Regions from separate parts of the Homo sapiens genome. Here regions 2, 3, 4, 5, 6 and 7 are each linked to region 1. The links are contacts of gene promoters, found by promoter capture Hi-C in human tissues and cell types (Jung and others, 2019). All regions are on one chromosome and are shown on one strand. The core of a region is centred on a gene start or on the middle of the fragment in contact, and the rest is flanking DNA. Distances in the headings are between cores, read along the strand shown.

The links. Contacts are between HindIII fragments. The study calls those that stand out against the background at their distance.
Region 2: a contact is called between a fragment that was not itself captured here and the fragment with the promoter of GTF2F1 in region 1, in 2 of the 25 tissues and cell types used here (dorsolateral prefrontal cortex and spleen).
Region 3: a fragment that was not itself captured here is called in contact with the fragment with the promoter of GTF2F1 in region 1 in 1 of the 25 tissues and cell types used here (dorsolateral prefrontal cortex).
Region 4: a fragment that was not itself captured here is called in contact with the fragment with the promoter of GTF2F1 in region 1 in 1 of the 25 tissues and cell types used here (dorsolateral prefrontal cortex).
Region 5: a contact is called between a fragment that was not itself captured here and the fragment with the promoter of GTF2F1 in region 1, in 1 of the 25 tissues and cell types used here (dorsolateral prefrontal cortex).
Region 6: a contact is called between a fragment that was not itself captured here and the fragment with the promoter of GTF2F1 in region 1, in 2 of the 25 tissues and cell types used here (aorta and lymphoblastoid cells).
Region 7: the fragment with the promoter of TNFSF14 here is called in contact with the fragment with the promoter of GTF2F1 in region 1 in 1 of the 25 tissues and cell types used here (adrenal gland).

What each region holds. Positions count from the first base shown.
Region 1 is chr19:6,390,805-6,394,823 of GRCh38, forward strand. GTF2F1 (general transcription factor IIF subunit 1) reads right to left here and starts at 2,360. Exons shown (of 13, transcript NM_002096.3): 1 at 2,180-2,360; 2 at 2,053-2,099; 3 at 1,098-1,170. The coding sequence starts at 2,191. It overlaps MIR6790 (microRNA 6790), which reads right to left and starts at 2,179; the gene lies at 2,117-2,179. It also overlaps the pseudogene LOC390877. The HindIII fragment of the contact is 23,950 bases long and covers 1-4,019 here.
Region 2 is chr19:5,966,584-5,970,602 of GRCh38, forward strand. All of the region lies in intron 1 of RANBP3 (RAN binding protein 3), which reads right to left. Among named protein-coding and RNA genes, the nearest start is that of RANBP3, 9.5 kb to the right of the region's middle. RefSeq lists an enhancer at 1,395-1,689. The HindIII fragment of the contact is 6,212 bases long and covers 1-4,019 here.
Region 3 is chr19:6,048,872-6,052,890 of GRCh38, forward strand. The region is part of intron 1 of RFX2 (regulatory factor X2); the gene reads right to left. Among named protein-coding and RNA genes, the nearest start is that of RFX2-AS1, 12 kb to the right of the region's middle. RefSeq lists a silencer at 35-154. The HindIII fragment of the contact is 9,272 bases long and covers 1-4,019 here.
Region 4 is chr19:6,067,833-6,071,851 of GRCh38, forward strand. The region is part of intron 1 of RFX2 (regulatory factor X2); the gene reads right to left. All of the region lies in intron 1 of RFX2-AS1 (RFX2 antisense RNA 1), which reads left to right. Among named protein-coding and RNA genes, the nearest start is that of RFX2-AS1, 7.2 kb to the left of the region's middle. The HindIII fragment of the contact is 5,534 bases long and covers 1-4,019 here.
Region 5 is chr19:6,086,128-6,090,146 of GRCh38, forward strand. The region is part of intron 1 of RFX2 (regulatory factor X2); the gene reads right to left. Among named protein-coding and RNA genes, the nearest start is that of RFX2, 22 kb to the right of the region's middle. RefSeq lists enhancers at 653-1,154, 1,076-1,145, 1,155-1,654. The HindIII fragment of the contact is 3,299 bases long and covers 322-3,620 here.
Region 6 is chr19:6,114,102-6,118,120 of GRCh38, forward strand. No RefSeq gene overlaps it. Among named protein-coding and RNA genes, the nearest start is that of RFX2, 5.6 kb to the left of the region's middle. The HindIII fragment of the contact is 3,250 bases long and covers 56-3,305 here.
Region 7 is chr19:6,668,223-6,672,241 of GRCh38, forward strand. TNFSF14 (TNF superfamily member 14) reads right to left here and starts at 1,938. Exons shown (of 4, transcript NM_001376887.1): 1 at 1,629-1,938. The coding sequence starts at 1,847. RefSeq lists enhancers at 458-547, 608-797, 1,698-1,787, 2,168-2,397 and a silencer at 2,968-3,067. The HindIII fragment of the contact is 26,746 bases long and covers 1-4,019 here.

The DNA.
Region 1 (4,019 bases), core at 1,110-3,609:
GGGAGGTGGAGGTTGCAGTGAGCCCAGGTCGCGCCACTGCACTCCAGCCTGGATGACAAGAGACTCCATCACAAAAAAATAAAATAAAATAAATAAAAAGAAACTCATTGTGCAACACTTGCTGACATTAAGGCACCAAAATCTCTACAAATTAACAATTTATCGTGACCTACATGGCTAATGTGATCCGAATTACCCTTAAGCTCTTGATTTAAGGTCCATATATACCATTTCCAAAACACTCTAGAATCAGCCACATCTCATAACCTCCACTGCCTCCAGTGCCCTGCCAGGACTCACCTAGACCAGTCCAGTTGCTTCTACCTTGGTCTCCGTTTATTTGCCCTCAAACCCACAGTTTGTCTCCCCATAGCAGCCAGATCACACACACTACAACTTCCCAATTGAAGATGCTTTAATGGCTCCCAAAGTCCTTTCTAGAGCCTCTGATGGCAGGGGCTCTGGGAAAGCCCCCAGCCCAGTCCCCTCCCTTGCCCAGATAAACCATGGCCAAAAATGTCCAACAGTGGGCACAGCTTCTAAATGTTCTCCTTTAAGGAGAGGCCTCTGGTGGGCCTACCAAACCTAACTTACAGGGACACCCAGGAGCTAGGCCTGGGCCTTTGCCATTTCCGTTTTTTTTTTTTTTTTTTTTTTTTTTTTTTTGAGGCAGGGTCTTGCTCTGTTATCCAGGCTGGAGTGCAGTCGTACAATCATAGCTCACTGCAGCCTTGAACCCCTGGGCTCAAGCGATCCTCCTACCTCAGCCTCCTATGTAGGACTACAGACCCACGCTATCAGCCCCAACTAACTTTTTAATTTTTTTGTAGAGTTGGGGTCTTGCTATTGTATTGCCCAGGCTGGTCTCAAACTCCTGGCCTTAAGCAAGCTTCCTGCCTCAGCCTCCCAAAGTGCTGGGATTACAGGTGTGAACTACTGCACCCAACCCTTTGTCATCTATCTTTTCTTCACTTGGAGAAAAGTGAGAAAATTAAGACTTAGTGACTATGACAGTTAAGCAACTATCACAACCACCAAGGTCAGGGTCAAGTTCTCTCACCACCCCAGCCCCTGACCCCCAGGACTCAGAGACTTACCTGATTCCACGTAGCAAAGTTGACTTTGTCGGCTGCATTAAAAGCCATGATGTTATATTTTTTGGTTGTATTCCTGGAGTGGATGAGAAGAGGTAGTGTCAATCCAATACAGCAATTCAATCATTAATTTAATCAGTCAATGCTATTGAACCATTAATTCAATCAACCACCCAACTGGATCGTTAATTCAATCAAATCATTACTTTAATTCAATCACTCAATTCAATTGAACCATTAATTCAATTCAATCATTCCATTCAATTGAATCATTAATTCAATTCAATTCACTCAACAAACCCACCCAGCTTCATTCAGCCTGTTTTGCCTGGCAACACTGGATACGGAAGACTCCAAGGATTCCCAGTCTGCCAGAGAAGCTAGACCCATCCTCTCCTGACCCCAGGCAGAAGAAGAGCAGATGGAGGGACGAAGATTTGGGGGAACCCAAGATGTGGAGATTATTGTGAACTCAGCCTTGGGGAGGAGGGAGGACAGGCAGGGAGTATTTCCTGGAGGAGGAAGATACTGGAGTTGAGTTTTGCAGAATCATCAAGAATTCACCCAGCAGAGTCACAGTTTAGGGGTTGAGGGGAGGCACTCATGGCAGAGGAACAGGATGTACAAAGGCCTGGAAAGGAAAGACAGCCTGACCACTTTGAAACAGGACGAGGAATATGTCCTTACAGCTGGCCTGGGCATCATGGGACCATATACTCCTCGAAGGTTAGGCCAGGGGGCTGGATCACCGTGTATTAATGCACTCATTCATTCATTCGTTCAAAAAAGCAGTGTTGTCCCCAGAGAAGCCTCAGCTTAATCCCAGCCCTGCCCTCCAAGTCTCTCCCGGTCTGGAGGGAGAACCACAGACAGGGCCAGAAATGGCTGGCTAAGAAGATCGTGAAGGTTTTCATTTTTGGGGGGTGGAGAGGAGTGGGAGATGGGGCTGGGGACTTACTTAGGAACTCGAACGACGTATTCAGTGACATTCTGGCTGCTAGGGCCCTGCGGAAAGAGGAAGCGGTGAGTGAGGGGTCGCCGAGGTCGCCGTCGGAACCCCCGAACCCCGCCAAATCCACACTCACTAGGGCCGCCATGGGCAATGGTCAGTGGTTCCGATCTGGTCCGACCCGGGTTCCTTTCGTCTCCTCTGGCGTGCGCGTCCCTCGATCCCGGGGAAGCCGCCGCTCGGTGTCGGGTCTCTGTGCCTGAGCGAGGACCCCAACCCTAGGCGCCTCTGGCGCTGGGAAAAGGTAACCGGAAGAGGCGCTCAAGCTACTCGGTCTACGCTTCTGCGGCCGCCTAACCCGGAAGCGAAACCCTCGAGCAGCCGCGTCGCGATGGCAACCTTCTTAGCGACTGTGGCCACCTCAGTGCGCAGTCACTTATGCTCCTCGGCGGCTATGGTCACCTCAAAAGGTCCACCGCGGTCCCTTTTTAGACTCAGCAAACCTAGGCCGAGTCTGAGATAAACTAACGGGCCTCTGTCGCTGGCGCTCTTGTATATAACGCGGTTAACTTCATCAAATGGGGGACCGCCCTCTCTCGTGACGTCAGCACCCAAGGACCGTGGGGCATCCTGGGTGGGAAGAGGGAGACGAATCCCCCTTGCGGGCTCCCAGGCACTTTGCGCATGCGCCTTGCCGCTCTGGACCTGGGGGGCCCAGAAGGCCGCGTCACCATAGCAACCGAGGCCTACTCGGGTCGGGTCGAACCGCCGCTTGGCTCCCCATGGGTCTGTTTGGGGTTCATTTCCTCCCCCTACCCCGAAGGGGTGGACCCCGTCATTCCCGCAAAATGACCGGGGCGGGGACCCTTGTGACGTTGAGCCGAGCCAGGAGGGGTCAGAGCCTGGGCGGGGTCGGGGCGCGACCACCCCAAGAGCTGCTGGCCGGATGGGTCTTTGCAAGTCCAAGCTGCCCGAGATGGGCAGGGCTCTGAGGCCCCAGGAGAAGGGTAACGTCGCGGGGGCGGCTGGCTGGCTTCCTGGGGGGAAGGGAAGGAAGCTGCCGAGAACAGGAGGGAGATGCAGGATCCCCTACCCCGTTCCAGGCATGCACACATCCCCCGAATCATGGCAGTAACACAACTGCGCATGCTCACGGCGCAACCATTCATTGCTCCACTTCGCAAATACTCCAGCACCTCCTGGGTTCGGGGCCCCGCAAGGTGAATCTGTCAAACCAGCTCCCCACGGAGGATTACAGTGTCCTCTCGAGGGTTACAGTGTCGTGGAAGAGACAGAGTCACAGCATGGGAATCTACAACCCAGGAAGGAGCAGGAGAAGCACAGCGGGGCTCTGAGGGCTCAGAGAAGAGGGGAGGTTTCAGTTGGGCACTGAGGGATGCATAGGAGTTGGCTAAGCAAAGGGAAGGCGGGCAAGACACAAAAGTTGGGCCATGAACTACAGACACCGTCGATGTGTCTGTTTTCATTTATTTCTCATCCACCACTAAATGTCAGGAACCGCCAACCCCTAGGAATATAGGAATGAGGGAGGCAGAAATAGTCCTTGCCCTCATGGAGTGTCTGGCTTGGGGGAGACAAGAACGAGTAAACGGCTGGGCACGGTGGCTCATGCCTGTAATCCCAGCACTTTGGGAGGCCGAGGCGGGCGGATCACCTGAGGTTGAGAGTTCGAGACCAGCCTGACCAACGTGGAGAAACCCCGTCTCTACTAAAAATACAAGATTAGCCGGGCGTGGTAGCACATGCCTGTAATCCCAGCTACTCGGGAGGCTGAGACAGGAGAATCGCTTGAACCTGGGAGGCAGAGGTTGTGGTGAGCCGAGATCGCGCCATTGCCCTCCAGTCTGGGCAACAAGAGCGAAACTCCGTCTCAAAAAAAAAAAAAAAAAAAAAAGAAGGAAAAGAAGGAAAAAAAAAGAACGAGTAAACAGAGAAGATCATGACAGACTGTGGCC
Region 2 (4,019 bases), core at 701-3,200, 420 kb before region 1:
AAGCAAGGGCAGCCCTGCCTTACAGTAAGCTTTGCTTCCCCACCAGCCCATGGCTGTCTCCAGCCTGTCATGGAGGATCTCCCGCTAAAACTAAATAGAAGAAACTACGTAGGCCTGGGAAAACACATATAAGAGAGAATCTGGAATATCTTTGCTTTTTCTGTTTATTCGCCTCCTGACTGATGACTCCAATACCTGCCAAGAAAATGCCCTCATCTAGAAAGCAATTGAGAACTCCTGACCAAACTGTCAGCAAGGTACTTGCATAAAATTAGCTTTAATCCTGGGCTGATATGTCTTAATCTTCTTACCTGTGAAAAAAATATGGAAAGCATCTCGCCAACACAAATAACAGTCTATTAAAATGTGGCAACTCCTGTAATCTGGTGACACGATCACAACCCTTCAAGTCATTTATTTTTTCAGAAATTATTATAAACAGTTCTGTGCCACAGCACAAAGGTAAATCTGTCACTGACGTGTCAGGTCTGTCCTCCAACTGATTCTTTGGTACGGAATGGAACTGATCTCAAACATGCAGTTGCTAGGTGATGCCTCTGCGGATCTCCGTGTATAGCATGCTCGGGTTCTCCAGCCCAGCTAGTGGAAGGCGGTGGGACCCTGGATGACTCCGTTCTTTTCTCAATACTCGAATATATTTCTATAACTTTCAACTGGTCTCATGGAGATTATGGGGACACACTTTTTGGAGCTGATGATATCCTACATTTTATGTACTTCTTTCTGGAATGCTCATCATCTTGGCATTACCTTCAACTACCGAACTCCAAGCCAACTTCCAACCACTCTCATCTCACCACCAGATACTTACACTTCCAACAAGCATTGCAGGGGCAACAGGCATTTGTTAAAAGGCCTTTACTGGACTCCGAGGTAGGTACTTTACATATCTAGTCTCATTCATCATAGACGCATCCCCATGACATCCTCCTCATATCCCACTCCACCCCATGAGGGCCAAGCCACATTCTGCCTTCTTTATTTCTACCTTTATCAGCCCTGCAGCCAAACCCTTCTAAGCTTCCACTCCTGCGCCACCCAGACCGTAAGCCCCGGGGGGCAGAACTTGCACTTCTGAACAGAAACCCCATAAAGTTATACAAAGTCAGCAACTCTGCCTACAACTGTATGGATGGCTGGGTTCAGTGGCTCATGCCTGTAATCCCAGCACGTTGGGAGGCCGAGGCATGTGGATCACTTGAGGAAAGGAGTTTGAGACCAGCCTGGGCAACATGGTGAAATCGTGTCTCTACCCAAAATACAAAAATTAGCTGGGCCTGGTGGGATATGTAATCCCAGCTACTCGGGAGGCTGAGACCCAAGCATCACTTGAACCCAGGAGGTGGAGGTTGCAGTGAGCTGAGATAGCACCACTGCACTCCAGCCTGGGCGACAGAGTGAGACTCTGTCTCCAAAAAAAAAGAAAAGAAAGAAAAAAGAAAAAACTGCGTGGAGAGATGGAGGATCCAGCTTTAACGGCACTTTTCTGTTCCGCCACTAGGTGGTGTGACACCAACACAGCTGAGGCAACATGCAAGTGGCTGAAGACTCGGGAAAGTTCCAGTAGAGACAACAGGAATCCCCTCCTCTCTACACGGAAGCTTACAGGAAGGAAATCCAAGAACTACAGAATTTATGCTGAGGCAGCAGAGCAAAACTGATGATACTGGAGAGCGCGGGCTCTGGTCTTTGTGTGTGTTCAAACCTGCCCTGGCCACTTACTTGCGGTTGGGATCCCAGATAAGACAATGTACCTCTGGCACAATGTCTTCATTTGCATATCAGGGCTGTTATTTCACCCCAGGCAGCTTCGGCAAGGATGAAATGAAATGCTGCACATGCCGTGTTTGGGGAAGTGGTTGGCACACAGGATGATTCCACACTGGCACTGGTAGCATTATTATGCTCGGAAGATTGCAAACATATTGATGCCACCTTAAAGCATAGGCCTTGGATTCAAGGACAGCTGCCAGTGCCCGGCAACGACAAATGCGTCAGAGTCTGACCCCTTTTAGGGGGTGGAATGGTTGGATCCAAGAGCTGCCTGGACGCCTGGGACACTCAAGGCAAACGCTCAGGTGCTCGGAATGCCTGAGCCCTTCTGAGGTCACAGGAAACAGGTGGGATCTGAAGGCAGGCCGAGCCGAGCAGCCAAGCCTTGCTCTCACCAGCAGGATCTACCAAGCACAGACTTGTGCTAGGCACCGAGCTTGCCACTGGAGACAGGAAAGAAATGGCAGACAAGGCCGCAGCTCTCTACTGGGAAAGAGAAAACAAACAAGTACCTGCTGTGTGCAGAGATAACTGGGTAGTTCTGGAGCTGGGTGCTGCAGAGAAAATACCACAGGATGGTGGGAGAGAGTGAGTGAATGGGTAAGGCCTCGCTGAAGCTCACACATGAAGGGTGAGCAGGGATGAGCCAGGTGAAGGCAGGGGATCCCAGGCAGAGGGGACCCCAAGTCAAAGGTTCTAAGGAAAGGAAGAGCCTGGAGGCCCATGTTTGGAGGGGAGGAGAACGGGAAGGGCTGGGTGGAGCCCACAGGACGTTCAGCCTTGCAGGCCATGCTGACAAATCTGGATTTATCCAGTGTAAAGGTTGGGGCCCAGGCTCTGGACTCTTAGGACCCAGTGGCCATCACCATCAATGCTGCAAAACATCCTCTCTCCTCTGAGCAGAGGGTAACTGCCTGTTTTCTCACCCTCTCCCCCAGAGAAAGGCAAGTTCTCAAGGACCGTTTCCACTCACGCTCTGCTCTCACAGATGCAACGCAGGAATTAATTCTGGGTAAATAAGTTCCCAAAATTCTCTGTGGCAAACCTGGGGGAGTTTAATTTAGCAAAGGCATTTTAAACTTACTGCAAAAGGCAAGGCCTGCCTTCTAAACATGTGTATGGAGTAACTACTACTGTCTCTAGAATTTCCTCCCTTTCTTTGAACACCATAAACAGCGACAGCGAAATGCAGTGCCCTACGCGGGTCAGTTTTCAGGGGTGAACGAGTGCCCATTACCTAGAGTTTACTGACTCACCGGGAAGGACAAGCATGAACTCCTAGACTCCATGGCTGGAGACAGGCGCACTGGCCCTAGCCAGCCCTACCTGCTTCCATGGCCTCGGGCTTCAGCCCCTGTGAAATGGTGCAGCCAGGACTCAGGCATCCCTGAAGGTTCTTCCCAGCCCTTACATTCTGTCAGGTCCTCACCCTGGACCAGAGGCAGTGTTAAAGGTCAAGGAAAAGACTGTTCTTCCTGAAGAGGGATATGATGTCCATTGAGGCCTACTCAGCTGCCAAAAGGCCAGAATAGAAAAATAAGGTTGGGAGGAAGGGCCTTAAACTCTAGCTGGCAATTAATTTATTCCTGGGTAGGTTCCTTTGATCCTATGACCAGTGGTTCTCACCCAGGAGTAACTTCATCTCCCTGGAGACACTGGTCAAAATCTGGAGACATTGTGACTGTCATGTTTGTGGGGGTGTGGAGGAAACTGTTACAGACATCTAGTGGATGGAGACCAGGGATGCTGACCAACATCCTAGGAGGCTCAGAACAGTGCCCTACCAGCAAGTGACCCAAGTCCAAATGTCAACTGAGCTGAGGGCAAGAAACCTTGCATTAATCTTGGGCAAAAAAATTGAGCTGGATCTCTAACTCACATTATACACCAAAATAAATCCCCAATAGATTAGATGGCACAAACCAGGGTGACCCCCCACCCTGGCTTCTGGGATTCACCGCCTCTCTCCCTCCCCACTCAGACTGTGGCTTTAAATGTGTACAGGCTCCTACGACCTCAGTAGGTTAGATAACTATGGAACACAAAGTCTCTTGGGTGTCAATGAAATCCCATAACCCAATGGTTCTCAAGTGGGGGCAATTCTGACATTAAGGGGACACTGGACAGTGTCTGGAGACCTTTTATCTTCTCATGACTGGGAGTGGATGGGTGGGATGACTGGGTGCTATGGCATCACATGAGTAGAGGCTAGAGGGGCTACCCAA
Region 3 (4,019 bases), core at 920-3,419, 340 kb before region 1:
CGGCCCCCGCCCCCGTCCCCTCCCAAACGCCTTCGATGCCACCCAGAGCCCCACGGCCAGTGCCTGGGGATTTTTCTGTTCTGTGTGAGCCTGACTCACTTCTCACCACTAGATGGCCCCAGAGCCACACGGTGATTGGCTGGGGCGTTAACTAAACCTTACACAGCCCGCACCTCCTACCTTCTACTCTTTCAAAAGATTGTAAATTTCCCATAGTGTATTTCCTGAGTCCTCAACTCACTCTCTGTCTTTGACAGAACTGACCTTTGGAATTTTTCTGTTACAAGCTGCTTGTATTTACAGTTTCCTTTAAATGTTTAAATCAGTCATTTGCACACCATCCACCATGCTGTTCCCGTCTGAAGCCAAGCGGGTAGCATCAGTGATACTAGGAGATAATTTGACTAGAACTCTTTGTGAAAGGAGTCCACCAGTGATAAAGTCAGAATGCTGACTTGACTAAGACCAGTTCCTTGTTCCGCAGGTGGAAATAATTTTGCTCCAAACTCCAGACCTTATTTAAGTAAGAAGAGGCCATGAGAGTGTTGGGGATAAATGGCGAGACCGTGGTCTGTCCACCATGGCCAGAATGCACCTTCCAGAAAGCAAGTTGTTCCACATCACAGGCATTTACACATGAATGTGTTCCCCTAATTTATTTTTATTAATTATTATTATTGTTTTTTGAGACGAAGTCTTGCTCTGTCACCCAGGCTGGAGTGCAATGGCATGATCTTGGCTCTGCCTCCTGGGTTCAAGTGATTCTCCCACCTCAGTCCCCTGAATAGACGAGATTACAGGCACCCACCATCATGCCTGGCTAATTTTTGTATTTTTATAGAAACGGGGCTTCACCATGTTGGTCAGGCTGGTCTCAAACTCCTGGCCTCATGTGATCTGCCTGCCTCAGCCTCCCAAAGTGCTGGGATTACAGGCATAAGCCACCGTGCCCAGCCTGTTCCCCTAATTTAACACACTATTTACCATGTGTTGTCTTATAGGTCAGACCAATGAGTCTGTGGCTTTTTGCCTGTGGGCATGCCCCAGTCCACAAATGCTTGGGTGCCAGAAAGCATCAGCCTCGTTATCCTGAAGGGTCAGAGGACAGAGTTCTGAATGCTGGGGTGTGGAGATTCTGGAAGAGAGAGAGCCACAGAAGGGGTGAGCCCTCAAATCTTCCTACAAAATACACCTGAATCTTTGGCTAAGCAACTACACCACAAAGGTGTGGGGGAGATACCAGGGGTCTTGGGGAAAAACCAGCAGTGCAAAGATAAAAAAATTAAGTGAAGATTTCAGCTGCTGCCTGTTGCAGGAGGGAGAGTTTGAATCTAGCCAAGTCACTTGCCTTCAGGGGAACTCAGATGAACCTACAGATTCTACAATACATCATTAATGATGTCCAGGACCCAGTAAAAACCATGAGCTATGAAAAGAAACAGGAAAGTGTAACATACACTCAAAAGAAAGAGTAACAAATAAAAAGAAAAAAGAAAAGCAGTTAATTATAACCAAACGCAAGATAACCCAGATGATACAGATAGCATTCAAGGACTAAAGCAGCTACTAAAAATAACTTCAAGAACTTAAAGGAAGTTATATACATAATGAATGAACATATGGGAATCTCAATCAAGAAACAAAGTATAAAAGGAGAACCAAATAGAAATTCTAGAGCAATAACTGAAACAAAAACTTAACTGGATGCACTCAACAGCTGGTTAAAGATAATGGAAAGAGTTAGTGAACTTAACAATAGATAAAAAGCATTTACCCAATCTGAAGAATGAAGAGAAAATATATGAAGAAACATGAATAGAACAAACTGTCTAATATATATGTAACGAGAGTCCCAGAAGAGAAAAAGAGAATGTAAGAGAAAAAAATATTGAAAAATGGCCAAACACCTCTACATTGGGTGATGGATATCAACTTAGAGGTCCAAAAATCTCAACAAACCCTAAAAAGAATACAAAGAAAGCCAAGATAGGTATGTCATGGTTAAACTGTTAAAAGAAGCAGTCAGAGAAAAACTACATATTATATTCGGAGAACAAGGGCACAGATGATGACTGGCTTCTCATCAATAACAATGGCAACCAGAAGACAATGGAGTGACATTTTTAATATGCTGGGGGGGAAAACCCTATCAGCCCAGAATTCTATCTCCAGCAAAACTATTCTTAAAAACTGAAGGTGGAATAAAGACATTTTTTGCATAAACAAAACCTGATAAAATTTTCTGCCTACCATGAGAAATGCTAATGGAAGTTCTTCAGAATGAAAGGAATTAATACCAGATGGTAAATTTGGATCTATTAGGAGTAAATATCACTTAAAATGATAAATACGCAGGTAATTATAAAAAACCGTATTTTTATATATTTTATATTTTTCCTTTTCTTCTCTTAATTTATTTTAAATACATAAAACTATTTAACAAAAACTTTATAACACTCCATTGTGGGGTTTATATCATATGTAGATGTTCTCCATGACAGTTGTAACACAGAGGATGGGGACAAATTAAGTTATACATTCAAGGTTCTTTTATTTTACCTAAAGTAGTAACATGTTAACTCTATAAATTGTGATAAATTAACAATGCACATTGTAACCTCTGAAGCATCCACTAACCAAAAAAATATATATACAAAAAGGTATAGCTAAAAAGCTAATAGAGAAATCAAATGAAATCCTACTTAACATATTTGATTATCTAAATAAAGGCAAGAAATAAAGAACAGAGAAACAAACAAACAAACAGATGGCACAAATAGAAAGCAAATGGCAGAATTGCTTTGCTAAATCTAGACATATTAATAATATATTAAGTGTAAATAGACTAAATTCTTGAATGAAAAGGCAGAAATGATCAGCCTGGATAACAATCAAGATCCCATTATATGGTCCCTAAAAGAAACCCTCCTTAAAAATAAAGGCACACATAGGTTGAAAGTAATAGAATAAAAAGAGATCCACTGTGCAAACTCTGATCTTTTATTTTTATTTATTTATTTTTTTGAGATGGAGTCTCGCTCTGTTGCCCAGGCTGGAGTGCAGTGCCACAGTCTCAGCTCACTGCAAGCTCCACCTCCCAGGTTCACGCCATTCTCCTGCCTCAGCCTCCCGAGTAGCTGGGACTACAGGTGCCCGCCATCACACCAGGCTAATATTTGTATTTTTAGTAGAGACGGGGTTTCACCTTGTTAGCCAGGATGGTCTCCATCTCCTGACCTCTTGATCCACCCACCTCGGCCTCCCAAAGTGCTGGGATTACAGGTGTGAGCGCCACACTCAGCCTGCAAACTCTGATCTTAAGAAAGCTGGAGCGGCTGTAATAATCAGACAAAATAGACTCTGAGATGAGAAATATTACTAGCAATACTAGAGACATTGACAAGACAAGGAATATTACTGCAGATAAAATTTCATCATAAGATGATCAATTTATCAGTATGACATATTGATTACAGATATGTATGTACCTAGTAATACAGCTTCAAGATACGTAAAGTAAAAATTAACAAAACTAAAGGAGGAAATAAACAATCATAATCGGAGATTTTAAACATCCTTCATTCAGTAATTTTGATTACTGAATCAAAATTAGAAGAACTAAGCAGAAATATTACTAAGGATACAGAATATCTGAATTATATTATCAACCACATTGATGTAATTGACATTTAGAGAACACTACAATCAAAACCTGCACATTCTTTTCAAATGCACATGGAATATTCACTGTGATGGGTCATGTTCTGGGCCATAAAATAAGCCTCAATACATTTCAAAATACCATAATTATACAGAGCATGTATGCACTTTGACCACAGTGGAGTAAATTAGAAATCAGTAAGAAGGTTAGAAAAATGCCAAATATTTAGAAAACTTAAAATACACCTTCAAAATAATCCATGGGTCAAATAATAAACCCCAAAGAAAAATAGAAAATATTTTGAACTGAATTATAATGTAAACACTTTGTATCAAAATTTGTGGGCACTGGTACAAAT
Region 4 (4,019 bases), core at 909-3,408, 320 kb before region 1:
GATTTGTGCATGACCAAGCATACCTTTCAAGGAGCTCTCAGCGGAGGTTTGCCCTTTGAGACAGACACAGTCAGTGCACAGAAACTGTTTTTTTAAGATATCATCCAGGAGTCATTCCTAGAATAGGAATGGAATAGACATGCCTCCCTGAGAAGAAAGGAAGACAGATTCTATACTGTTAGAATTTGAATCTGTGTTGCAGGGAGATGAGGAATTTGAAGCCAGACTCTTGGGCTGTTAATGTATGGCTAAGTGGTGATGTGGTGACAACCTTGAATGCTAGTCCTGGAGGTCAAATCACCAGCAGCTGGTGCCATGGGAGGCTTTGCTTAGGGGACACGGCTGGGTTCTGCCTGGATGCTGCATCCCAAGGGAGGCATTGAGGTGCGGCTGTGAGGACTCCAAACCCCATGTCCAGAAGGATGAGTAACAGAGATCCTGTGTCATTCATTGATTTCAATAAAATATTTATTGGATCCATAGCATGGGCCTGGCATTGACCAGTCATCAAAACACAATTCCCTGCCCTCATGGAGTTTCTATTCTAGACCATGCGGGAGGATAGGAGCATATGGACAGTAAACAAGGTAAGTGAGAAAAATATGTCGTACGTCAGATGACACCCTATATCATATGGTGACAAGTACCAGGGGGAAAAGGAAGCAGACAGAAGGAGTGCTGGGATAGGAAGGGGTTGCAATTTTTAAAGCGTTGTCAAATGCTTCCCTGGGTGGGCTCATTAAAGAGATGAGGAAGGTGTGGGACGGAGCTGTCCAGATATCCTGGGGAAGAGCGTTCCTAATGGAGGGAAAAGCCAGTACAAAGGCCCCGAGGTGGGACAATGCCTGGCTTGAAACTGGAGCTGAGTGAACCAGAAGGCAAGGAGAAAGGCCCACACAGGCCATTGTAGGGGCTCTGGCTTTTGCTTGGGGTAAATGGAAGCCATCACAAGGTTTGAGCCCAGGAATGGCCTGGTTTGACTTGCATTTTAACCAGGCCCCTCTGGCTGCTGGGTTGAGAATAGGGGAAGAAGGAAAAGGGTGGGAGCAGAGAGAGCAATCTGGAGGCTAATGTGATAATCTGGGCAAGGGAGGGGGGCCTGGCTGTGAGCCATGGAGGGGCAAAGCCGTCAGACTCTGGATAAACATAGGAGGTAGAGTCAGCCAGATCTGCTGACGGGTCAAGGGTACCTCCAAGGTTTTTGGCAACTAAAAGGATGAGGTCAGGAAAATTACCCAAGAAAAAGGCCTGGAGAGCACTTGGGAGTTGAGTTCTGAAGGTGTAAAGTGTGAGAGGCTCCTAGACACCCAGGTTGAGATGCTGAGAAAGCAGGCAGATTACATAAGTCTCAGGCTGAGGGGTGAGCTGGAGCCATCAGTGTATAGAGAATGCAGGCTGGAGCCATCAGTGTATAGAATATATGAACTAGAGCCATCAATGTATAGATAACATAGCTGGAACCATCAGTGTGTAGGGGACATGACCTAGAGCCACCAGTGTCTAGAGGATGTGGGCTGAAGCCATCAGTGTATAGAGAACATGGGATGGGGCCATCAGTGTATAGATGACATGGCTGGAGCCATCAGTGTATAGAGAACATGAGCTAGAGCCACCAGTGTATACAGGATGTAGGCTGGAGTCATCAGTGTATAAATGACCTAGTTAAAACCATAAGACTATCTGGGCTCACCAAGGAAGAGCAGAGAGAAGAGGCCTAGGGCTGAGTTCTGGGGCTGTCTACCATTTAGAGATCCCAAAGAAGCAGGAGCCTGAAAAGAGGCCAAAGAAGTATAAGCAAGTGGTGTCCTGAGAACCAAGTGACTCTGGGGCTGAGTGGTGATCACTGGAATCAGCAAAGTGGAGGTCACCAGTGATTGTGACAGAGGAGCTCCAGGGGAAAAGTGTGTGCAAAAGCCACAGAGGTTGGAGCAGGTTCAAGAGAGCCCCAAGTGGAGCAGAACTGGAGACAGGAGGACCAGATGGCTCTTTTGAGGAATTTTTGCTAGAAAGATAGGAAGAGGAATGGGGAGGCAGCTGGAAGAGGAAACTGAGAGCGGGTTTCTGAAAATGAAAGAAATAATAGCAGGTAGGACCTACCAGGAGGGAACTGGGATAGGAGAAAGAAGGGAGACTTGCAAGTGGATGTTCTTTCATGGATGGGATGGGATGGGATGTGGATGGGATGGGATGGGATGTGGATAGGATGGGATGGGATGGGATGGGATGGGATGGGATGGGATGTGGATGGGATGGGATGGGATGTGGATGGGATGGGATGGGATGGGATGGGATGGGATGTGGATGGGATGGGATGGGATGTGGATGGGATGGGATGTGAATGGGATGGGATGGGATGGGATGGGATGTGGATGGGATGGGATGGGATGGGATGGGATGGGATGGGATGGGATGTGGATGGGATGGAATGGGATGTCCTGCAGAACACAGGTGGGCTTGGCCAGGGCTAGGTGCATGGATATGCATCCACCAGTACAGGAGAGAAGACAGAGTGTCCACCCTGGAAGGTGACACCAAGTCATAGTCCTTCTGGAGGGGGGTCCTGGTCCCCAGTCCCATTCTTCATCCATGGAATCCCTGTGTTTACTCCTCGCCAGCCTCAATAGCTGGCTGCTGGGGGCCTCCACTCTCAGCAGGGTGGACGGGCTTGAAGCCACACGATAGGGCCTGGGTATAAAGTATGATGACCTAGGTCCACAGACCTCACATCAGAGCCTCCAGCAGACCCTGGGTTCATAGTCACATATGGGCTCCATGTGACCAATACTTGCCCCCACCCCATGGTCCCACCTCAATGCCTGACAGAAGCCCCACTCCTCAGGTTTATGCACATGATTTGCCTTTTTCACTGCTTTCTTTTTCTTTTCTAGACACAGGGTCTTGCTCTGTCACCCAGGCTGGAGTACAGTGGTTGGATCATAGCTCACTGCAGCCTCAAACTCCTGGGCCCTCAGCCCAGTGATTGTCCTGCCTTAGCCTCCCATGTAGCTAGGACTACAGGTGCACACCACCACGCCTGGCTACTTAAAACAAACAAACAAACAAATTGTAGTAGCAAGGTCCTACTATGTTGTCCAGGCTGGTCCTGAACTCTTGGCCTCAAGCAGTCTTCCCACCTCAGCCTCCCAAAGTGTGGGACTGCAGGCGTGAGCCCCCGTGCCTGGCCCTCACTGCTTTCCTTATGGTTACTCCATACCTCTTTTCAAATTTGCCAAATGGCTAATCTTTCCACACTCGAGTATTATTAGAAATGAGTTTTAATATACCTATTTTTCTTGCTATGTCAACGTACAAACATGCATCCTTAAATAAGAAAGTGTTAGAGTCACATATTAAAAATGCATTTCTTGCTAAGTCATGCTCGAATTATGCAAGATTGCAAGGAAATTTAATGCAAGACAAATGAGTGAGGCCAGGAATCTTGCTGTGAGAGTTTGGGAAGCAGAGCTCCCTGGCTCCAGACAAGGAATGGACTCAGCCTGACGGGAGGAGGTCTCGCCTGTCTTTGGGAGGGAAAGATCCTGTCGGTACTTTTAAGTGATCGTCTATCTTTGAGGCACAGACATATCTCAATTGGCCCGGGACAGAAAATCAAGCCAAGTCAGAGATCCCCTCAGCAAGACCCAGGGATCTCTGAAGAAATGAAAATGAAGCGAAGAAAGACAAAATTAGAAATATTTATTCCATCCGTCATCTCTTTGCTTGTCTCAAATGCCACCATCCAACCCAATGAGAACGACAAAAGGACATTCTATTTCTGTCCCCATGAAAGTTTCAACCCCAAAGCAAAACCTCAGTGTGCGCTGAGAAGATGCAGCAAAAGGGTCTTTTTGTTAAACTCATTATTAGAATTAAACCCAAAGAGGGAAATGTTGGAGGTATTTTAGGTTTTTAAACTAAATTAGTCCCAATTAATTCTAAGAAGATACACTAAAATCAATTCTGTTTTAGAAAGGCAATTTAATACAAAAGCTTGAGGGGAAATGTTATTTTTAAAATGT
Region 5 (4,019 bases), core at 721-3,220, 310 kb before region 1:
CAATTTCATTCTTTTGAATGTGGAAACCCAGTTTTCCCAGCATCATTTATTGGAAAGACTGTATTTACCCCATCGAATGATCTTGGCACCCTTGCAGGAGTAAAATACGGCCATGAGTCGCTTCCTGACAGGGATACGTTCTCAGCAATGCAACCTCAGGCAATTTCATCATTGTGCGAATATCACAGAGTGATACTTACAGAAACCTAGACGCTACAACCTACGTAGCACACCTGGGCTGTATGGTATAACCTATTGCTCCCAGGCTACAAACCTGTCTAGCATGTGACTGCAGTGAACAGTGCAGGCAATTGTAACACAGTGGTAAGTATTTGTATCTCCAAACATGGCTAAGCATAGAAAAGGTACAGGAAAAATACAGCATTATAATCTTATGGGATCACTTGTATATGTGGTCTGCTGTTGACGGAAATGTTATGCATGGCATGACTGCATTATAAGCAAATAATTAAAGTTAAGTAATAACACACAAGAATCTAATCTTGCCGGAAAGGGCACTGTAAAAGTGAATTGCAAGAGAAGCTCACAGGAATTAGATGACTTCTGTGTCTCCCCTTTGACAGTAATGGATGCATCCACGCACACGGCTCATTCCTGTTTTCAGTGATGCGCTTCCTTACTATTATTTGCAAAGGGAATTTGTCTGTTCTGACCACACAACTCTACAGAGATACAAACATCACATGGGCACCTCTGCCTTTTCTGTTTACTACTAACGTAGATTGTCATGTAATTTTTGCCCTTCCATGCCTGTTCTTCTGAGGAGAAATTCCCAGTGTTGAGCAGATTTTGAAAGAGATCCAGACTGATGAAAGATTAAAAACCACTGGGCTACAGCAGTATGTCTTTTTTTTTTTAATCTTTTAAAACTTAAATTCACAAATTTGAGGACTCCAATTCAGACGAGCTTCGTTGTATAAACCAGGCAGATCTGTGGTCTTTAGAAGAAAGTGACAGAATCAGTTCACTTCCTGGGTGGGGACTGAGCACAGGCAGATGGTCGCAGCGGGTCAGAAGCCACAAGCTGCAGAGACAGACTCATGATAGACAGGGCGACAGGCATAACCTTCACAGGGGCGAAGCGAGACGCACACCCGTCTCCAGCAGGGAGCCACAGTCCACAGGTGGCTACTCCTCCCTCCCACTGCCCTGTATTTAGGAATTCAAACAGCCTGGGAAGGGACTGTGCTGATAATTGGCTCTGCTTTCAAAGAACACTTAGGAGATAATTAACCCACAGTCCACCAAGCCCAGGAATTGAGGATCGAGGATCAGAGGAAGCCCAGGAGGGAGATGCCTGCCAGAGGCGAGTAAAGGGACTTAGAGAGAAGTGCAGTTTTTTCTAGCATCCACCCATCCAACCCAAGGAAGCCCATCTGATTTACCACATCTAGCCAGTGACCTTGATCAGTTCCACAGCCAGGCATTAAGGCGAGTCCCCACTAACTTTCTCACCTCAGAGAAGCCCGATTCCAATTCTAGCCCCTCCCTGGACTCTGTCAGTAATTCCTAGCAATGCCTTCACTCTAAAAAATCCAGCTACAACAAAAGATTCAGATGCTGCAGAATTTATTTTGATTTGGAGGTTTCAGCTCCAAATCAAAGGGCTGATATCATGGAAATAGCTTTTTTGACAGCTAAACAGAAATTATTTTCCTTGATTAGCCATGGCACATTCGCCCTTCTTAGGTGGACAGCGTGTTTTGATACGAAGGTGATGGGTTACAGGTGCTGGGTTTCTCCACATGGGCAGTTTCTCCCCAGGAGTCTCACTCCTTACATCATCATCTAGAGCAGTAATTAATTTCAGAAACCACTCCTGGCTGCCATAAGCTGCACACCCACTTCCAGAACTGGCTTAACCCGCCAGGAAGCCACAGTCCTCAAGGGACAGTCACCCAGAGCTGCATGTTGGTGAGTCAGAGACGAGAACAAAGAGGAAGCAATGACCCCTGAACACAGAGCCCTTCCCAGCCCAGAGTGCTGCTCTAAGCCTAACCCAGGCTGGCCAGGGCCTGAAAGACAAAGAAGAATGCCACAGAGAAGGGCCAGGGCACTACAGCTTTTTTTTTTTTTTTTTTTTTTTTTGAGACGGAGTTTCACTTTTGTTGCCCAGGCTGGACAGCAGTGGCGTGATCTCGGCTCACTGCAACCTCCGCCTCCCGCGATTCTCCTGCCTCAGCCTCCTGAGTGGCTAGTATTACAGGCATGTGCCACCATGCCCCGCTAATTCTGTATTTTTAGTAGAGATGGGGTTTCTCCCTGTTGGTCAGACTGGTCTCGAACTCTCGACCTCAGGTGATCCACCCGCCTCAGCCTCCCAAAGTGCTGGGATTCCAGGCTTGAGTCACCATGCCAGCCCAGCATTTTTTTTTAAAGGCACAGTTCTCATAGGTATAAGAAGGCAACGAAATTCATCCTGCAAGATGGATGTAGCCAAAGACTCTTCTTTAATTACAACAAACTGGAGAAGATAACAAAGTAAATATTATTCCTCTCTCTCTTAGAGAAAGCAAAAATATGTTAAACACCATTGAAGAGCCTAAGGGGTTTTATAAACCTCAAAATCAGCATCACATTCATATACACATGAGTACTAGTCACATATAGCCAAGTAATGTGCGTTAGACCAGGGGGTGGCAAGCTTTTTTTGTAAAATGTGGAATAGTAAATATTTTAGGTTTTGCAGGTCAAGCGCTCGCTGTCAAGATGACTCAACCCCATCCATTGTAGGGTGAAATGACTGTGGCTGTGTGCCAATAAAACTTTATTTATGGTTCCAGTTTTAGTATATTTGCTGCTGAAGCAAGCACAATTTATGGACACTGAAATGTGAATTTCAGATAATTTTGTATGTCCTAAAATATTCTTCTTTTGATTTTTCCAACTACTTAAAAATGTAGGAAAAAAGCATTCTTAGTTCATGGGCTGTACAAAAACAGGCAGTGAGTTGGATTTAGCCCATGGGCTAGTTTGCCCACTCTGTATTAGACTCAGATGTTTGGACTCATGTCTTTAAAACAGAGCCTAAAATAACTCCAAATAAATAAAAGGGCAGGTATCAAATAGCCCATGTAATGACAAATAACCACGCTAGAAATCTGCGTCCAGCAGGTCAGGGACACTCTGGGGGTGAAGACCAACACTCCTGTCCTGTCTCCATCTCAGTGGCGGAGGATGTGGGGTTTTGGGCAGTCTCTGAAAAGGGAGTGTGCACGGGCAGGAGCTGGAGCAATGTCACAGGGAAGGGGGAGGCCAGCCCTCATGTCCTCTGGATTCTGACCCTGTGCTATGGTTGGAATGTTGTGTCCCCCCAAAACTCACATGTTGAAACCTAACCCCCAATATGACGGCATCTGGAGGTGGGGCCTTTGGGAGATGATTAGGTCATGAGCATGGCACCCACAGGAATGGGATTAGGGTCCTTGCAAAAGAGGCCCCAGAGACCTCCCCTGCCCCTTCCATCACGTGAGGACACAGCTAGAAGGCAGAAGCCGAACCAGAAAGCAGGCCCTCCCCAGACACTGAATCTGCCAGTGCCTTGATCTTGGACTTCCCAGCCTCCAGAGCTGACTGCAACACATTCCTGTTGTTTAGAAGCCAGCCAGTCTCTAATATTTTTGTTGTAGCATCTGAATGAACTGTCACCCTCCCTTCCCTCCACCACCCTGTGTAGCTCTTACATGTGCTGGGGACCTTCATGATTCAGGGTCTTTGGGCATTTCACAGAGGAACAGAAACTTGTGGATTAGAGAAAATTATTATATGAGATAACATCTTTGGATTGTTTGTATAAGATAACATCTTTGGATTGTTTGTTTGTTTGTTTTGAGACAGGTTCTCGCTTTTGTCACTCAGGCTGGAGTACAGTGGCATGTACATCGCTCACTGCAGCCTCAACGTCCCAGGCTCAAGAGGTCCTCCCACCTCACCCTCTGGAGTAGTTGAGACCAGAGGCCCACACCACCACACCTGGCTATTTTTGCATTTTGAATTTT
Region 6 (4,019 bases), core at 431-2,930, 280 kb before region 1:
AACCCGTTTAGCTAAGCTAGACCTCTTCCCGCTCCCAGCCCTGGCCAGAGGCGGAAACTGTGGCCCCAGTTATCTCAAAAGACAAGCACAGAGTAGCAAAAGACAAGCCAACAGGTGGCAAATTCTTAGAGTCCTGCTTTTGTGCGGCACATTTTTGTAAATTAAGGTGACATTTACATACCATAAAATGAGCCATTTTAAAAGGAAACAGTTCAGTGGCATTTAGTACATTCACTATGTTGTACAACCACCACCTATATCTAATTCCAAAGCATTTTCTTTTTTAATTTGTTTTTTTTTTTATGATGGAGTCGCCTGTCACCCAGGCTGGAGTGCAGTGGCACGATCTCACCTCACTACAACCTTCGCCTCCTGGATTCAAGCGATTCTCTTGCCTCAGCCTCCCGAGTAGCTGGGATTACAGGTGCACGCCACCATGCCCAGCTAATTTTTGTATTTTTAGTAGACATGGGGTTTCACCATGTTGGTCAGGCTGGTCTCAAACTCTTGACTTCAAGTGATCCGGCCCCCTTGGCCTCCCAAAGTGCTGGGATTACAGGCGTAAGCCACCTTGCCCGGCCCCCATGGAGGGTTTTAAGCAGGGGTGTGTGCGGGGACAGGTGGGGTGGGGAGTGGGTGGAATGTCACCCGATCTGTGATTTTATTTTATTTTGTCAATTAATTATTTTTTTAAGAGACTCTTGCCGGGCGCGGTGGCTCACGCCTGTCATCCCAGCACTTTGGGAGGCCGAGGTGGGCGGATCACGAGGTCAGGGGATCGAGACCATCCTGGCTAACACGGTGAAACCCCGTCTCTACTAAAAATACAAAAAATTAGCCGGGTGTGGTGGTGGGCGCCTGTAGTCCCAGATACTCGGGAGGCTGAGGCAGGAGAATGGCGTGAACCCGGGAGGCGGAGCTTGCAGTGAGCCGAGATCGGTGCCACTGCACTCCAGCCTGGGCGACAAAGTGAGACTCCGTCTCAAAAAAAAAAAAGACTCTTACTCTATCGCCCAGGGTGGAGTGAAGTGACACGATCACAGCTCACTGCACCCTCAGACTCTTGGGTTCAAGGGATTCTCCCACCTCAGCCACCCAAGTAGCTAGGACTATAGGCATGTGCCACCAAGGCTGGCTAAATACAAGAATTTTTTTTTTTTTTGTAGAGACAGGGTCTTGATCTCCTGATGTCAAGTGATCCTCCTTCCTTGGCATCCCAGAGTACTGGGGCTACAGGGATGAGCCACCATGCATAGCCTAAACTATAATTTTAAAAGCTCAGTTGAGGCCAGGCCCAGTGGCTCATGCCTGTAATCCCAGCACTTTGGGAGGCCTAGAGGGGTGGATTACTTGAGGTCAGCCTGGCCAACATGGTGAAACCCGGTCTCTATTAAAAACCCAAAAATGAGCTGGGTATGATGGCAGGCACCTGTAGTCCCAGCTACTCTGGAGACTGAGGCAGGAGAGTAGCTTGAATCTGGGAGGTAGAGGTTGCAGTGAGCCAAGATCGCACCACTGCACCCCAGACTGGGCAACAGAGAGAGACACCATCTCAAAAAACAGAAATGAAAATAAAAATAAAAATGAAAGCTCAGTTGAGCCACCTCATGGGGAATAGATTGTAGGAGACAAAAGGGACAGAGAGAGATCCTAGGAGTCTGTCCCAGTTCTCCTGGGTGGGAAAGTATGGTGGCTTGGTTTAGGGACCTGGTAGTGGAGGCGGACATGAGTGGGTGGACTGAGGGTACATTTGGAAGAACACTCTAGTGGACTAGATGTGGGGAGTGAAGGATAACGTTTTAGGGTGTGACAGGAGGTGCCTTGTAGCTGGTTTGTACACTCCGTTCTGCTAGAATGCTTGTCTTTGAAATGTCAGTTAGTCCCAAAGTGGTGGATATAATAGGAAACAATTTGAGCACAATGTGGATTTTGCCTTCCTTATGCACAATTTTGTCTGCAAGAAACACTAGGTAAATAGAAAACTGCACCTGTCTGGACCAAATCGTGTAGGACTGCACAAAATATGCATAAGCACACATCTGAAATATCTACCAGCCACCTCAGCTTCCTGTGAATTATGAGCCACATTTATCTATGCCTAGCATTACAACTTTCCATCTGATTACAGATGACTTTTCTACCTTTTCACAATAACTCACAAGCTGCAATCCTTCAATAGCAACTTCCTCAAGCAAACTTCAGCCCTTTTTCATGGCAATGTGGCATATTTACTATAGTATTTATATATTTCTTAACTAACCAAAATGTGTAAAACTCTTCAATCTCAAAGAAGAAATCATGAGGGAAATTAGAAAATACATTAAGGGCCAGGCACAGTGGCTCACACCTGTAATCCCAGCAATTGGGGAGGCTGAGGCAGGTGGATCACCTGAGGTCAGGAGTTTGAGACCAACCTGGCCAACACAGTGAGATCTCATCTCTACAAAAATTAATTTTAAAAACTTAGCAGGGCGTGGTGGCATGTGCCTGTGGTCCCAGCTACTTGGGGGGCTGAGGCAGGAGGATCGCTTGAGGCCAGGAGATGGAGGCTGCAGTGAGCTATGATCACGCCACTGTACTCCAGCCTGGGTGACAGAGAGAGACCCTGTCTCTTAATAAGAAAAGAAAAGAGAAATTGCTGAAGTGCCACATTCCTGTTGACATAGGACACCCAGGGCAGACAGCGAGGAGACAGATGAAGCTTAATTCTTGAATGAATGGAGGTAAGGCTGATATTTTCTCCTAGTGGACTCTGGTCCAGTTCATTCCAGAGACAAAGCTTTGCCTCCTTAAAGTAGCCACTTGAACCATGTTGGAGGACCTTGTTGGGCACAGCTTGGAGAGGAAATAGCAGAGCTGAAGTCTGCAGCAGAAGAAGCCACAGGAGTGGATAACCAGGCAGTGGTAGAGGGAAAGGGGTGTGCACAAGGCAACACCTGACTCCCTTGCTCCTCTTACCTAAGGCCCAAGGGCAAGTGACACCAAGGAGGAATCATTTTCAGGATGGCCAACTCATCCTGGTTTCCTTGGGACTTTCCCACTTCTAAAACTCAAAGTTGCAGTTCCCCAAAATGTAAAAAGTGGAATTCCCATGGGATCCAGCAATTCCACTCCTAGGTGTCTGCCCACAGGAAGTGAAAACTTAGGTCTTCACAAAAACTTCTACATGAATATTCCTAGCAGCATTAGCTCATAAAGCCAGAAAATGCACACAACTCCAGTGTCCATCCATGGAGGAACAAATAAACAAAATGTGATCTAGGCCGGGCGCAGTGGCTCACGACTGTAATTCCAGCACTTTGGGAGGCCAAAGTGGGAGGATCACTTGAGGCCAGGAGCTTGAGACCAGCCTGGGCAACAAAGTGAGACCTCCATTTCTAAAAAAAAATTTAAAATATTAGCCAGGCATGGTTGCACACATCTGTAGTCCCAGCTACTTGGGAGGCTGAGGCAGGAGGACTGAGCTCATGAATATGAGGCTACAGTGAGCTGTGATTTCACTACTGTATTCTAGCCTGGGCAACAGAGGCTCTGTCAATGAAGGAAAAAAAAAGAAAGGAAGGAAGGAAGGAAGGAAGAGGAAAGAAAGGAAGGGAGAGAGAAAAAGAGAGAGAGAAAGAGAAAGGGGGAAGAAGGGAAGAGAGGGGGAAAGGAAGGGAAGGAGGGAGGGAGGAGGAAGGGAAGAAAGAAAAGAAAAAGGAAGGAAGGAAGGAAGGAAAGAAAGAAAGAACAAAAGAAAGAAAAAGGAAATTACCTAGGTGTATTCCCAAATTTTTGGCTGTGAAATGAATTCTTTGCCTCACATCACCCCATAATAAAGCTGTGGTAAAGCTTCAGTTCCCATGGAAGGCTAGTGAGGAGGGTTAGGTGTCTAGAGACCTGGGTTTGGAGTTAAACAGGTGAAAATGGAGCTGTTTTGAAGGCAAGGGGCACAACAGAGTGTTTGCATGCCCAGAATCACCGATTTGAAACCCCAGCATCAAATGATTCCAAGGATGGGTCTCTGTCACCTCAAATAG
Region 7 (4,019 bases), core at 688-3,187, 280 kb after region 1:
CATGGTGGTGCATGCCTGTAGTCCCAGCTACTCATGAAGCTGGGACAGGAGGCTTGCTTGAGCCCAGGAGTTCAAGGCTGCAGTGAGCTATGATCGTGCCACTCCACTCTAGCCTGGGAAGCAGAGTGAGACACAGTCTCTAAGATAAATAAATATGTAATTAATTAAATAAATAAGTAATATTTAAAAATACAGGGACAAGGCCAGGCGTGGTGGCTCACACCTGTAATCCCAGCACTTTGGGAGGCTGAGGCAGGTGGATCACTTGAGGTCAGGAGTTCGAGACAAGTCTGGCCAACATGGTGAAACCCCGTCTGTACTAAAAATACACAAATTAGCCAGGCACGGTGGCGGATGCCTGTGATCCCAGCTACTGCTCAGGAGGCTGAGACAAGGGAATCACTTGAACCTGGGAGGTGGGGTTGTAGTGAGCCAAGACTGCACCACTACACTACAGCCTGGGCTATGGGAGAGAAACCTTGTCTCAAAAAAAAAAAAATGCAGACAGCGAGATGGCTGGACACATGGACACCACCCTTGGGATATAGCACCTGCCACAGGGCACAGACCTCAACATCATCATGACGCTGAGAAGACACATGTGGGCTCAGATGCGTGGACATGTGGTTTGTGGTTTATGGATCCATGTGCGTCTACAGACACAGAGACCCAGAGACAAAGACAGACAACGTGAATACACCGGCTGCAGCTAGGCGGGTGTGTGGACATGTGGGTACACGCACATACGTCCACATGGGTATATGGACACGAATGTGTGGCCACCGGATCCAGACCCAGGACACAAAAGGGGCCAAGCCCACAGGGGTATGGTGTTGGGCACACATAGACCCCCAGGTGAGGCACACAGACAGGCGGACACATCCACAGCCAGCTGGAAGCAGACCGAGAAATTTCCACAGATGGAAATGGTCAGAGAATTAATGACAATCGCAGTAACAGTAATAAGAGTACCAGAGAAGGCCAGGCGCAGTGGCTCACACCTGTAATCCCAGCACTTTGGGAGGCTGAGGCGGGTGGATCTCCTGAGGTCGGGAGTTTGAGACCAGCCTGACAAACATAGAGAAGCCCCATCTCTACTAAAAATACAAAATTGGCCAGGCGTGGTGGCGCATGCCTGTAATCCCAGCTACTCGGGAGGCTGAGGCAGGAGAATCACTTGAACCCGGGAGGCAGAGGTTGCGGTGAGCAGAGATCATGCCATTGCACTCCAGCCTGGGCAACGAGAGTGAAACTCCGTCTCAAAAATAAAAAAGTACAGAGAAAATGCATGCGTGTGTGCACAGGGGTGTGCATGGCAGTGTTGGGGTGTCAGTTCCGACGGGTGGAGCTGGCATCGTCTGGTACTACACATGCCATAGCATACTTCGTCCCCTATGAAGAGACTGCCCTTATTTTGTAGATGAAGACACTGAGGTTCAGAGAGGTGAATTCACTTGCCCAAGGCTGGGAGCAGCAACCAGTCAAGCCAGCTGCTCTCAGCCTGTGCCCTGTCCTACACACACACACACACACACACACACACACACACACAGACACACAGTGACCCACAATGACACAGGGGAGCCCCCCTCACCTCCACCTGCTCTCAGCCCCCCGGTCCCACTCACAGGCAGGCGGGTGACCATCTCTCCTAGACGCCAGTGCAGCTGCAGGAGGAACCAGCCTTGGACGGCCAGCCCGGCCCCCATCAGCAACAGCAAGAGACCCAGACCCACCCGGGCCACACTGCACGACTGTCTCCGGTGGCTTCGTCCCAGCCTCGTGAATGGGATGTCGGTCTGTCCATCCACCACAAACACTGAGGGCCGTACGACACTCTCCTCCATGCCCAAGGTGTCTGGAGCAGGGCTGACACGCCTGGGTCCTTCAACCTCAGAGGAAACCGAAATTGCTCAACACTCCTGGGCTGTGCACGCTGCGGACAGGCACCCGTGGGCCGCCTTTAGAGCTGGGGTTCAGCCCCACCCCTTCCCCCACTCACCCTCCTCTTCTTCCGGTACCCGCCGCCCCCGGTCTTGGCCCTGTCTCACTCTCACTCATACAGACTCTCACACTTTCCAGAGGCTTCTGAAAATGTGACTCAGGTGGCAAGTGCAGTGGGGAGCCCCCAGCTTTCCCTTCTTGGATGCTTCATTCGCTTGGGGCCACCAAATATCGACTGAGGACTTTCTGCCCATGCCAGGCTCTGCTCTCGGTGTGGGGGATGCAGCAATGAACAACAGCAAGAAGGGTCCCTGCTCCTCTTCTGGTGGAGCCAGAGAGACAAGAAACCTCGTAAACAAGAAAATAATACGTTGTGGGTTTTTTTGTTCGTTTATTTGTTTTGTTTTTGAGATGGAGTCTCGCTCTGTTGCCCAGGCTGGAGTGCAGTGGCGCGATCTCAGCTTACTACAACCTCCACCTCCTGGGTTCAAGCAATTCTCCTGCCTCAGCCTCCCAAGTAGCGGGGATTACAGGCGCGTGCCACCACGCCTGGCTGCTTTTTGTATTTTTAGTAGAGATGGGTTTTCACCATGTCGGTCAGGCTGGTCTCGAACTCCTGACCTCAAGCGATCCACCCACCTCAGCCTCCCAAAGTGCTGGGATTACAAACGTGAGCCGCACCATGCCCGGCCTTCTGTTGTGTTTTGATGTGACAAGTGCAGTGAAAAACACAAGAGTGGAATAAAGGAGTGGATGTGTGCTCTGTGTGTGTGCTTGTCTGCATGCATATATGTGTGCAGTGTGTGCATGTGAATGTGTGTATTCAGTTGTGTGCATGCAAGTGTGTATCATGTACACATGTGCAGGCGCATGCCTGTGTATCATACATGTGCTGGCATGTAAATGTGCGTGCATATGTGGGCAGGTGCATGCATATGTGTATGGTCATCTGTGTGCATGTGCATGTGGTCCATGTACATGCATGCATGTGCACGTGTGTGTATGTGTGAACATGCATCACATGTGCAAGTGGGTGTGCATATATGTGCTGTGTGCAGGTGTGTGCATGTGTGTGTGCCTGTGCATTGGTGCGTGTATGTGTGTGTGCGCACTTGCACGGGTGTGTTCATGTGTGTGGGGAGGTCCATGTATGAGTGTGCATGCATTCAAGCGTGGATTTTTTTTTTTTTCGAGACGGAGTCTCGCTCTGTCGCCCAGGCTGGAGTGCAGTGGTGCGATCTCGGCTCACTGCAAGCTCCGCCTCCCAGGTTCACGCCATTCTCCTGCCTCAGCCTCCTGAGTAGCTGGGACTACAGGCGCCCACCACCGCACCCAGCTAATTTTTTGTATTTTTAGTAGAGACGGGGTTTCACCGTGTTAGCCAGGATGGTCTCAATCTCCTGACCTCGTGATCCGCCTGCCTTGGCCTCCCAAAGTGCTGGGATTACAGGCATAAGCCACCGCACCCAGCCTTTTTCTTTCTTTTTTTTTTTGAGGCAGAGTCTCACTTTGTCACCCAGGCTGGAGTGCAGTGGTGCCATTTTGGCTCACTGCAACCTCTGCCTCCCGGATTCAAGCAATTTTCCTGCCTCAGCCTCCTGAGTAGCTGGGATTACAGGCGCCCACCACCATGCATAGCTAATTTTTGTATTATATGTTGGCCATTATATATGTTGTAACATATATGTTGTCTATATGTTGGCCAGGCTGGTCTCGAACTCCTGACCTCAGGTGATCTGCCCACCTCAGCCTCCCAAAATGCTAGAATTACAGGCGTGAGCCACTGCACTTGGCTTCTGTCTTGTTTCATAAGTATCTTTGTAATATCCTTGATTTTACCTCTTGGCCCTGAAAGCCAAAAACACTTATGTGGCCCTTTATAGATACAGTTTGCTGCCAGCTTGCCCCTGAGCTTAGGCTAAGACACGAAGTGCCCTTCACTGGGGCCTCTGTGGTTGGACCCTCGTGCTTTTGCTCACTCTGCCCCAGACAGATATCCTGGGTCTTTGCACTTCCTCTTCCTGCTGCTGGGAACCATCTTCCCTAGATCTCCAAAGCAGGCTCCCCCTGCTCAT